Regions from separate parts of the Homo sapiens genome. Here region 2 is linked to region 1. The links are contacts of gene promoters, found by promoter capture Hi-C in blood cells and fetal thymus (Javierre and others, 2016). All regions are on one chromosome and are shown on one strand. The core of a region is centred on a gene start or on the middle of the fragment in contact, and the rest is flanking DNA. Distances in the headings are between cores, read along the strand shown.

Region 1 (5,878 bases), core at 1,024-3,523:
ACTATAGGCACACACCACCATGCCTGGTTAATTTATTTGCCTTTTTTTTTTTTTTGTAGAGACGGGGGTCTCATCATCTTGCCCAGGCTGGTCTTTAACTCCTGGCCTCATGTGCTGGGTACAGGCATGAGTCACGGTGCCCAGCCAGGTTTGGAATTTTTACCATTAACTTCAACTTATTCTATTTCAATCCCAGTTTTCTTATTAAAAAAAGGAAAAGGTGTAAAAGAGAAAAGTTATACAACACACCTATATATCCCACTATCTTTCTGCTATATCCAGGAGGATAAGCGACTAGATTTAACCCAGAAAACTACTATCTCTGATTAAGTGTATCAGAATGAAAGCACTGTAGGGTGAAAAGACTGCATACACAAAGAACTTCTACAGGTGGGTTCTGGACACATTAACACAAAAGCAGAAAGTCTTATTCAAGTAAGTTTTTCATAATAGCCACAGGTTTTGTTAACTGGTACATTTTTACATAGATTTGGCTCATAACTTTACACCATCAGTGTCTTATCAATATCTAACATTCTCCCAAGATGATGTCATTAAGGTAGTAAGAGGGCCAAGATAAACTTTAAAGATTTTTGAGATACAAAAAAAAATGGTGGGTGGGAAATAACTTTCATGGATTTAAAGACTATCAGTTTTATTAGGTTTGCCAACCTGTCTTCAGGCCACAGTTAATTTGTCATGTAGAGGAAGTGAGAGCTATAGATTAGTTTTCATGAATGGTATAGAGAGAATGAAATTATTTGATGAATCTGAATCACTGGGACTAGAAACAATTTTCATACCAAAGGTTCACAGTTTCAGGGTTTATGGGTACAAGAGAGGGCTTCGGATTTTTAGTACTTACTGATCATTAGAAAGTATCAAGGTTTTAAAATGTTTTTCTAACATCGATTATGTTTGAATAATATGACACTGAGAGAAGCTGCAAAAAATCATTTGGTAGAAATTAATCAAAAAATTAAAAAAAATAAAATGTTCAGTATTCATCTAGCATTTAGTTCTTATTTTTCCTTTTCATAAAATGCAAGAGAATCAATTTTATTTTCAATTATCTAATGTATTTAGCCCCAAAAGATGAAACATGCACAGACAGCTTTAATATGAATGGCAAGGAAACGACCAATTTTAATGGCTTGGTTTTAGTAGATGACCAGTTTGAAAGATAATTTACAATGCTGAAATGAGAGCTGATCATTTTTCTCAAAACGTTTTTCAGGTTAAAAAAAAATCTTTATTAGCTGTATCTTCCCTTGATGACAGGGTTCAGGGGCAAGACTTAAGCTAGCCAACTCAGACTGCATCACAGAATGCAACCAAATGTTTGCTCAATTAGTAAGTTAACATCATAAAAATAAGTTTTAACTGTGGACGTTTTTAGAGCAGCAAAACTGCCGAATCTTTAAAAAACTGGGAACTGCCACAGCTCTTTTAATGAACACGTGCCCCGGATACGCTACCAAGGAACTAATAAGGTTTTAGGCATCGTTTTGTTTTGTTTTGTTATTACTAATGCCTGCAGGCTTTCAGCGTTAGGTCCCTCTCTGTAACCCACAGCAGGGCCTAGAACATGAGGCGGTTGCGCGTGAGCAGTATTTCTTTTTTTAACTCCAGCAAAAGCCCCGCAAACGATAAACGCTAAAAGCCCGATTGACATCCTCCTTGCCCTTCCATCTCTCCTTTACGAAGACGGTTATAATCCTGGCGGGACCAGGGGTGGAATATTGTGGTTCTGGAGGGACAGAGCGAGTGCGTGAGAACACGGCAGGGGAGGGCAGCAAGACGTGACCACGGAGTAGGAGGGAAGGATGTTGCCTCTTCTAGGGCGGGAAGAGACTGCGAGAGGTGCTGCTATGCATGACCAAGGCTGGCACGCGGGGAAGATGGTGATGGCCGCAGGACAGGGTGAATGCGGGGGATTCCCTGTTAAGGGGCAGCGTTCGTGGCCGCCTCCGGTGAATGATTCGGGAGCAACGAAAAGGGTGAGGCACAGAACCCGGGAATTCCTGACCGAAAGAGAAAAAAGGGCGCCGAGAAACAGGGTTATTATGGGATGGCTAAGGGGGCTCCCTAGGAAAAATTACAGGATCTTCCTCACCCGCCAATTGCTGTACAGTCTCTTCACTCGCCGATAATAAGCGTCTTTGTCCAGAGTCACAGCCATAGCCCCGGACGCCGCTTCTCCTCGGGTTCCGAGAATCACGCGAGGTCCCGGCTCAGCCACCCGCTCTCGGCCCAGGAATCCCGCACTCTCCCAATGACCCGGAAGTATCGACCTCAAAGATGCCCTTTCCGCTTCCGGGTCCCAACAGCGTTAGGTTTTTTTTTTGTTTGTTTGTTTGTTTTGTTTTTTTCCAACCCTCTTTCGGATGGACGGGGGAAAGAGAGAAAGAAAAACGAGGGAAAATCAACAAAATGTGCGATGCAAAGAGTCGATTTTCGCGGGGTTTGTCAACTTCGCCACTGCCGCACGCGAATCGACGTCGTCACGTGACGGTCTGCCTCCGCCCTTATTAACTCTCAGCCCAGCGGCGGTTTCCAGGACCTCAGACTTTTTGCCGAGGCGGCAGTCCCTAGACGAAGCGAAGGAGGCGGCGCCTGCCCCGCCCACAAGAGCTGCCGCGCGCGGGTGTTATAGCTCCACCCCATCTGCAAAGGAAGGGGGAGCGGAAAGAGCGGGATCTAGCGTGGGATAAAAGTGGGACTACTACAGTGTAACTGGGCATGCGCCCCTCCTAGAAATGATGGGAATGCAAAAGCCCTTGACTGCTCCAGGACTCGAGGGATCCTCGGTGCCAGGATGCTGGGTCAAGCGCTCCGCCGGGACAGAGGACTCATACCAGGGAAATGGAGCCCAGCCTCGTGATAAACTACGACCCAAGCTGGGGGAGGAACCTAGTTTTCGAAAGGAAAATAATATGCGCAAGCTTTAACTGAGCAGTGGGATGGTGTAAGTCAGAGGAAACAGATGACTTGAGGGGCTCTACAAACTTTTAGTTCCTTCCCACAACCCCACCCCCTGAGCCCAAGTCGCGGCAGCATCCTTCCAGTCGGCCAGTCCCCTTGCTGCAGTTCATGAAAACTGGCACTATTCTATGGCTTCCCCCAAATAACCGTTACTTCAGTTAATTAGAAACAAAACATAAATGGTTCCTGATGACATTCTTGCTCCCTGTCTCTTCTAAAAACTTGGAGTTTGAATCCAGAAGTTTGCCTACCTACCATTTACCTTAAATAATTCCCTTGCCTTTAGCCAGCTGGACAGTCTACATTTGTATATACCCTTTAGAGGAGTACAGATGACTTGTCTGCTGTAAGGCAATTTAGTATAAACAGTATTGAACTTAAGGAAAGTGGTGCTGAAATTACCCACCATTAACAACTCAAAATCAATACACTGGGTTTGAGCAAACATAGAACAAAGGAAGAGTGGAAAAGGATTAACTTAAATTTATTAATGCCAAGGGGAAAGAAGGTAACAGTTCCTGACCCTCCAGCTGTATCCACAGTTCGGCCAGGAACAGGCTCTGCCAGAGGCTAGGGCCAGCGCTACATAGTCTGTGGTTAATGGAGGTGACTAGGGAGGGGTGAGCACACCAGCTGCTCTAGTCTCCTTTCCTTCCCCAGAAATGAGGAAGTGGTCATGTATTATTTTAGGAGTTCCCCTGCCCACCCAATCCTCTCATAATTGGGAGCAATCAGGTACATTTTTTTTTTTTTTTCCTTTTCACCTCCTGGAGTCCTGGACTTCCCCACATCTCCCCTGCCCCTCCCACGTTTCCATAGTCCAAGGGCCAGAGTAAATGAAAATACAGCAGCCGCCCAAGCAATGGGGCCCATGCTGGGGCTTCAGTCATCAGCATCTTCACTGGAGTCTGAGTTAGCTGGCATCATAGGATCATCAATGAGTGAGAAGTCCCTTTCTGAGCTATCATAGCCCTGAGATAAGTCATCATCATCTTCTTCATCCTCATCGTCATCCTCCTCAGGTTGCAGTGGTGGCAACCGCAAGGTAGTACCAGAGGCGGTAGTCACTGGTGAAGAGGGGTAGCCAGGGGCTCTCAAGCCTGGATGGTGATGGTGGTGATGGTGGGGGTGGGGGTGGTGGTGGTGGTGATGAAGCATGGTGCTGGAGTCTACATGAGGGGATGATGGTGCACCACCCATCACAAATGGCATAAAAGGCAAAGATGCAGAAGTGGCACTGCTGTGACCCAAAGATGACACAGACTGTAGGCCACTACTGCTGTGTTGGAACGTGTTATGCAGAGATAGAGACCCAGTGCTTCCACCCTGCATGAGGGCCATCATCTTAGAAAGGTCTGGTCGCATCCTACGGGCCCGCTTCTTGCTGCTCTCTGGTGCAATAGGCCCTGGCAAAACCCGGTTGAACACCGTTTCAGTGTGATGACCCTAGGAGGAGGGAATAGAAGATAATAAAAAGAAAGAAAGGGGAAAAAAGAAAAGAAACCAAAGCCAACAGAGTCCTAGCTTACAATGCTTTTTTACTGAATGTACCTTAGAAGAGGCAAAACAAGCACAGCGATACTAGGCTTGATTGGTGGTAATGGGAAGGAGGAAATGCTGGACTTAGCTGGTTGAAACATTCTGATACTAAAGTTAAGATCAATGATTTTGTACCGAAACTCATATTAACCAGTTTTTGCTTCTTTTCCCCATGACTATATTGTATCTTTACTTTAGTCAACCATTTCACAAATGCTTACCTTTGTTAAGAAGGGGTCTGGGTAAGACAATGAATTAGTAAATGCACATAAAAAAAATCACTTGTGACCGGGCGCGGTGGCTCACGCCTGTAATCCCAGCACTTTGGGAGGCCGAGGCGGGGGAATCACAAGGTCAGGAGATCGAGACCATCCTGGCTAACACGGTGAAACCCGGTCTCTACTAAAAATGCAAAAAATTAGCTGGGCAAGGTGGCGGGCGCCTGTAGTCCCACAGCTACTCGGGAGGCTGAGGCAGGAGAATGGTGTGAACCCGGGAGGCAGAGCTTGCAGTGAGCCGAGATCGCGCCACTGCACTCCAGCCTGAGCGACAGCGAGACTCCGTCTCAAAAAAAAAAAAAAAATCACTCGTGTCTCCTGATGGCAAGTTGTTCACTTGTTCTTACTATGTGAATTGACATTTACAATAATATCCTCTATTAGCACATCAAAGCAGGGTAAATTCAAGACAGATCAGATAAAGATTTCTACATGTCTAGAACACCAAAAAACTGTCAGAAACTCCTCACTAAATTTAATAAAATAATTTTTGTTCCACATTGATAAAAAACTTACATATCTGAATTTTAAATGGCTTCTTCTAGATGTTCTGACTAAAAATTCTGATTAAGTTCATTGAAGATAGAAGTTATTCCTGCAGGTCCCAAGAATAACGTAGTGCTAGATTCACTGTCAATTCTATATTAAGAATTCTGGGCCAGGCGTGGTGGCTCATGCCTGTAATCCCAGCACTTTGGGAGGCTGAGGCAGGTGGATCACTTGAGGTTAGGAGTTCAAGACCACCCTGGCCAACATAGCGAAACTCTGTCCCTACTAAAAATACCAAAATTAGCCGGGAGTCAGCCAGGCGTGGTGGCTCACGCCTGTAATCCCAGCACTTTGGGAGGCTGAGGGCAGGCGGATCACCTGAGGTTGGGAGTTCGAGACCAGCCTGACCAACATGGAGAAACCCCATCTCTACTAAAAGTACAACAAATTAGCTGGGCGTGGTGCCGCATGCCTGTAATCCCAGCTACTGGGGAGGCTGAGGCAGAAAAATCGCTTGAACCCAGGAGGCGGAGATCGCGGTGAGCAGAGATCACGGCATTGTACTCCATCCAGCCTGGACAACAAGA
Region 2 (5,583 bases), core at 91-2,590, 990 kb before region 1:
CTGTCTCAAAAAAAAAAAGCAAATGAGGGATGATTAGAGAGAGGTCAGAGACCAGAGCAAGAAGTTCAGAAACCAGGCATGTGGAAAGTCCAAGATAGAGGAAGTGAGGAATTCACATACAATCTACCCTACTCAAAATGTTTTAAAGGCTTGGAAAGATTAAAAACAGGGTTGGCCCAAAGTTTGGAACAAAATTTATGCAACACTGTTTATGGGATGGCTGTTATGTTACCACTTAATCTGTTGGCTCTAGCCCTAAGATTGGGTTCAACTGGCAAAATGTATTATCTAGTCTAGAGCAAAGGTTTCTAAACTTTTTAGATGGCCAAAAGAGAAATTTCGTAGTGTAAGTTGATTTATGAAGTATATACTAACATAATGTAGCACATTCATTAGTTAATATTTCAAGGCACAATATCCATTTAAAAGAAGGTTCACCATTTATGAAACCCCGTCTCTACAAAAATACAAAAATTAGCCAGGCGTGGTGTCTGGTGCCTCTAATCCCAGCCACTCGAAAGGCTGAGTCAGGAGAATCGCTTGAAACCAAAATGCGAAGGTTGCAGTGAACCGAGATCACGCCACTGCACTGCAGCCTGGGTGACAAAGCAAGACTCTGTCTCCAAAAAAAAAATTAAAAAAAAGTTCACCATTTATAATGACGAATGTATGTAAATCCATATTTGAAATAGTCTTCATAATTTGTAAGCTTCTCACCCAATTTCTTCTATTTGATTAGTCATTACTTTTTTTGCTTAAATATAGGTGAAAAAGATTTGCACTGGAGATAGAATTTCACCACTGACCTCTGTCACTTCCTTATTGTTCCCTTGTACCTGTGTTATTAATATTATCTTCAAGCCATAGTTTCTTTTCTTTTTTTTTTGAGACGGAGTCTCACTCTGTCACCCAGGCTAGAGTGTGGTGGTGCAATCTCAGCTCACTGCAACCTCTGATTCCTGGATTCAAGCAATTCTCCTGCCTCAGCCTCCGAGTAGCTGGGATTACAAGTGCTCACCACCATGCCTGGCTAATTTTTGTATTTTTAGTAGAGACGGGGTTTCACCATGTTGGCCAGGCTGGTCTCAAACTCCCGATCTACAGTGATCTGCCTGCCTCGGCCTCCCAAATTGCTGGGATTACAGGCGTGAGCCACCATGCCCAGCCCATAGTTTCTTAATAATAATATTTTTAAGGTTTATATCAATTTTAGGCCGGGTGCAGTGGCTCACGCCTGTAATCCCAGCACTTTGGAAGGCCGACTCAGGCGGATCATGAGGTCAGGAGATCAAGACCATCCTCGCTAACACGGTGAAACCCCATCTCTACTAAAAATACAAAAATTAGCCGGGCGTGGTGGTGGTCGCCTGTAATCTCAGCTAATCAGGAGGCTGAAGCAGGAGAATCACTTGAACCTGGGAGGCGGAGGTTGAAGTGAGCCGAGGTCGCGCCATTGCACTCCAGCCTGGGCATCAAAGTGAGACTCCGCCCAAAAAAAAAAAAAAAAGGTTTATATCAATTTTAGACAGTTAATTTGGTTAATACTGAATAATATAATTCCAAATCCATCTACAATTGAAAGATAAATTGCTATAAGTCAAATTATATAGAAACCAAAATTAAAAAAAAAAAAGAGTGAAGGGGTGACATTAATGCCCTCAGATTGTGGATGCTCAGAAAACCTCAACTATTACACGTAACACATAACACTGTATCATATGGATTCAGTGACTATGTGGGTTCAATCTGCATGGTAAGTACTGGGAAAATTCTTTTCTTTTAGATAAAAGTAAACATAAATAGGAGGTGTGATTTTCTTTTCCTGGACAGAGGTGCATTCAAACCACTTTAGAGGCCAGGCCGGTCAGTCCGTCACCATGCCTTGTGCACCAGCCCACACCATCAGCAGCTTCATCAGGTAAATGCTGCTCCCTTTGTAAAGGGGATGTAAGTCTTATTTGAATTATAGCTGGAAGCTTTCAGCCCTCTGGAAGTCTTGGGATTCTCCAGTCATCATTCTTTTTTTTTTTATTTTTGAGATGGAGTCTGTCTCTGTCACTCAGTGGCACAATCTTGGCTCGCTGCAACCTCCACTTTCCAGGCTCAAGCAATCCTCCTGCCTCAACCTCCCAAGCAGCTGGGACCACAGACATCAACCACCATGCCCAGCTAATTTTTCTATTTTTGGTTAGAGACGGGGTTTCACCATGTTGCTCAGGCTGGTCTCAAACTCCTGAGCTCAAGTGATTTGCCCGCCCCAGCCTCCCAAAGTGCTGGGATTACAGGCGTGAGCCATGGTGCCTGGCCTCCAGTCATAATTCTGATTCACAAACTGTATGGAACAATTAGGTTGTATATGTACTATAAATGAACTATTGCATCCATTGTCGACTCAAGTTTTTTCCACTGTTACTATGTATAAAAGGTTTTCTAGATCATTTTCGGTAAGAAATTAAGTCCAATATCATACTGGTGATATTAGAAAATAAACTGGACATTTATCCTTAAGATTGCAAAATTCACTAATTTCATTCCAAAAAAATGTTAATGAGTTATTAATGAGATCTGTGGTCTTCAAAAAGGGTTCTGTATATCCAATTACATTTTATCTTATATTTTATACTTATATCTTTTTTTATATTTCCTTTTATTTATTTATATTTATTTTTGGCTGGGCACAGTGGCTTACATCTGTAATCCCAGCAATTGGAGACCAGCCTTGGCAACAAAGTGAGGCCCTGTTTCTTAAAAAAAAAAAAAAAAAAAAAAAAAGTACATATACATATATTCTGGTGTATCCTAAAAATTGTTTTTGTAGTATATGATTAAAAAAAAGAAACACTAGCCACCACGGGATTAGACTATGGGCATTTGCCTCAACCAGGATAAATGACATTAAAAGAATAAATTTACATGTCCTTACATTTTCAGGGACAGTGGTTCTCAACCAGAGGGAGGAAGTGGAGATGGGTGCATATAGAATTATCTTCATATGGCTGGGCGTGGTGGCTCACACCTATAATCCCAGCACTTTGGGAGGCCGAGGCGAGTGGATTACTGGAGGTCAGGAGTTCAAGACCAGCCAATATGGTGAAACGCCGTCTCTACTAAAAATACAAAATTAGCTGGGCATGGTGGCATGCGCCTGTAATCCCAGCTACTCGGGAGACTGAGGCAGGAGGCAGAAGTTGCAGTGAGCCAAGATTGCGCCATTGCATTCCGGCCTGGGCAAAAAGAGCAAAACTCCGTCTCAAAAAAAAAAAAAAAAAAAAAAAAAGAATTATCTACATATACCGGCTTCTATCCAGGCCCCTTTATTCTACTCCACCCCAAGTGGTTTCAACCATCAGGGAAGAAGAGGCTGTCAACTGGGGGCAGGTGTGTGTGTGTATGTGTGTTTGTGTGTGGGTGCGTGTGTGTGTGTGTGCAGTGGCTCATGCCTATAATTCCAGCACTTTGGGAGGCCAAGGTAGGAGAAATGCTTGAGGCCATGAGTTTGAGACCAGCCTGGGCAACATTACAAAGACCTTGTCTCTAAAATTTAAAAAGAAAAGTAATAATTTTATAAAGTAAAAAACGAAAGAAAGAGCCTGCTATAGGTAAAAGTAGACCAAAAAAAAAAAAAAAAAAAAAAAAACAGAGAAAGAGAAAACTGAAGATAACTTGATCCTCCTCTATTTGACTTTTTTTTTTTCTGTATCAATGTGGGCAAATTACCTAAAACTTCCATGTCCTAAATACAATATGAGGTTCTGTACAGATTCCAATATGCCATGTGCCAGTCCTACCTTTTTTGGAATGAGTTACAGAGATATCGATATGAGTACAATGAGAGAGAAGGTACTTTTGTCATATGTTGATAAAAACTTGTACATCACCTAACTACATCTGGTATAATGATCTATGATGCCAACATTACTCAAAGCAGGTACCACTGTTTACTTTGGTGTAGTCAATGGCAGACCTTATAAATCAAATACAACAACCAGGCAAAGTAATAACTTCATCATTCCACAGAAATCTTCTAGTGAGGATCTAAAATGTGGAGGCATAAATGGGGAAGAGAAGGAGGGAATGTGATGGTCAAGGTCACTCTACCAATGAGTTCCTCCCAGACCGACGCTTTGTTCCCCCGTAGGCTCAGCTCCCGCTCCCAGGTCTCTGGCCTAGACAGCTTCATCCTCTTCCCAGCTCTGCTAGAATCCCAAGGCCCAGGAAGGCGACTTCGAGAAAAGAGCTGTAGGTTGGAGGGGTATCTGAGGATAGGTAAGAAAGAGGTCTATCATTTCAGAGTCAGCAAGAAAATAACTCAGAAAAGGAAAGGTGAGTCATGTTTACAGGGCATGTCTGCCCAAATATGCCTAAAAATAACTCAGAAAAGGAAAGGTGAGTCATGTTTACAGGTGAGTCAGAAAAGGAAAGGCAGCAATTGGAAAGGCAGTCATGTCTACAGGGCATGTCTGTCTAAAGTCATGTTGCTGGGTTTGAGAACTACTGGGATGGGGGCCACGGATGTTGAAAAGTTAAGGAATTACTTAGATGGAATGCATGCTCAGGGTGCAGCTTCTCACCTGTAACCCAGCAGGGCTTGAACGTGCTGGGCAGGCTTGTGGATGTGCAGTCGCTGAACCAGCTTCTTCAGGGTGAACCTTGGAGGATTCTTTTTCTCTGACACTGTATCACCGGCCTTCTCAAACTGTGGAAACATCCCCAAGTCCCACAGGGGTCCTTTCATCCATGACCATGGGAACTTTCTTCAATAAAGCAGATTGTAAGACCATCCGATCCCTATGTGGTAATTTCTTTCTTCAAAATAGATTTGGCCAAGGAGCAGGAATAGAGGGTACAAATCTCTGGCAACAAGAGCTCCCATGGTAAGCAGCACAGGATGGCAACTCTTTGGGGTCACTGTTTCATTCACACAAGCAGTTAACATGGGTTGACTGGCTTGTGAGAAACAAGGTGGGGATAGAATGAACACAGGACAGCTTTGTTTGTAGAGGAGGGGAAAGGGAAAATCAGCTCCGATTTAAATCACTAAGACTCTTAATAGATAAATAGAGAAACGAGCACAATGCAGGCTACGAGGAGTTTAAAAACTAAAAGTAGGCAGGGCGTGGTGGCTCATGCCTATAAACCTAACACTTTGGGAGGCCAAGGCAGGTGGATCATTTGAATCCCAGCTACTCGGGAGGGAGGAGTAGGAGGTCAGGAGTTTGAGACCAGTCTGACCAACATGGTGAAACCCCGTCTCTACTAAAACTACAAAAAAATTAGCTGGGCATGGTGGTGGATGTCTGTACTCCCAGCTACTCGGGAGGCTGAGGCAGGAGAATTGCTTGAACCCAGGAGGTGGGGATTGCAGTAAGCCAAGACAGCACCACTGCACTCCAGCCTGGGCTACAGAGCAAGACTTCGTCTCAAAAATAAATAAATAAATAAAAACTAAAAGCAGGTAGCTTTCAGCATCTTCTATGGCAGAAGAACTAAATTTAGGATATATTAATAGGATGAAGAGAAAAGACGAGTTGACCAACTGAGAAAGCGTTTTTTCTTATAACGCTAATATATATTTTCCTAATC

What was found. Contacts are between HindIII fragments. The CHiCAGO score rates a contact against its expected background, and 5 or more counts as called.
Region 2: a contact is called between a fragment that was not itself captured here and the fragment with the promoter of SUPT16H in region 1, in 1 of 17 cell types (monocytes). The highest score is 5.5, in monocytes.

Annotation. Positions count from the first base shown.
Region 1 is chr14:21,381,746-21,387,623 of GRCh38, forward strand. SUPT16H (SPT16 homolog, facilitates chromatin remodeling subunit) reads right to left here and starts at 2,274. Exons shown (of 26, transcript NM_007192.4): 1 at 2,117-2,274. The coding sequence starts at 2,182. CHD8 (chromodomain helicase DNA binding protein 8) reads right to left here. Exons shown (of 38, transcript NM_001170629.2): 38 at 3,454-4,431. The coding sequence ends at 3,868. It overlaps LOC107984643 (a long non-coding RNA gene), which reads left to right and starts at 2,528. Exons shown (of 2, transcript XR_001750627.2): 1 at 2,528-2,968. The HindIII fragment of the contact is 3,293 bases long and covers 1-2,943 here.
Region 2 is chr14:20,396,886-20,402,468 of GRCh38, forward strand. TEP1 (telomerase associated protein 1) reads right to left here. Exons shown (of 55, transcript NM_007110.5): 8 at 4,572-4,696; 9 at 4,099-4,256. Among named protein-coding and RNA genes, the nearest start is that of TEP1, 14 kb to the right of the region's middle. RefSeq lists an enhancer at 3,744-4,943. The HindIII fragment of the contact is 1,267 bases long and covers 708-1,974 here.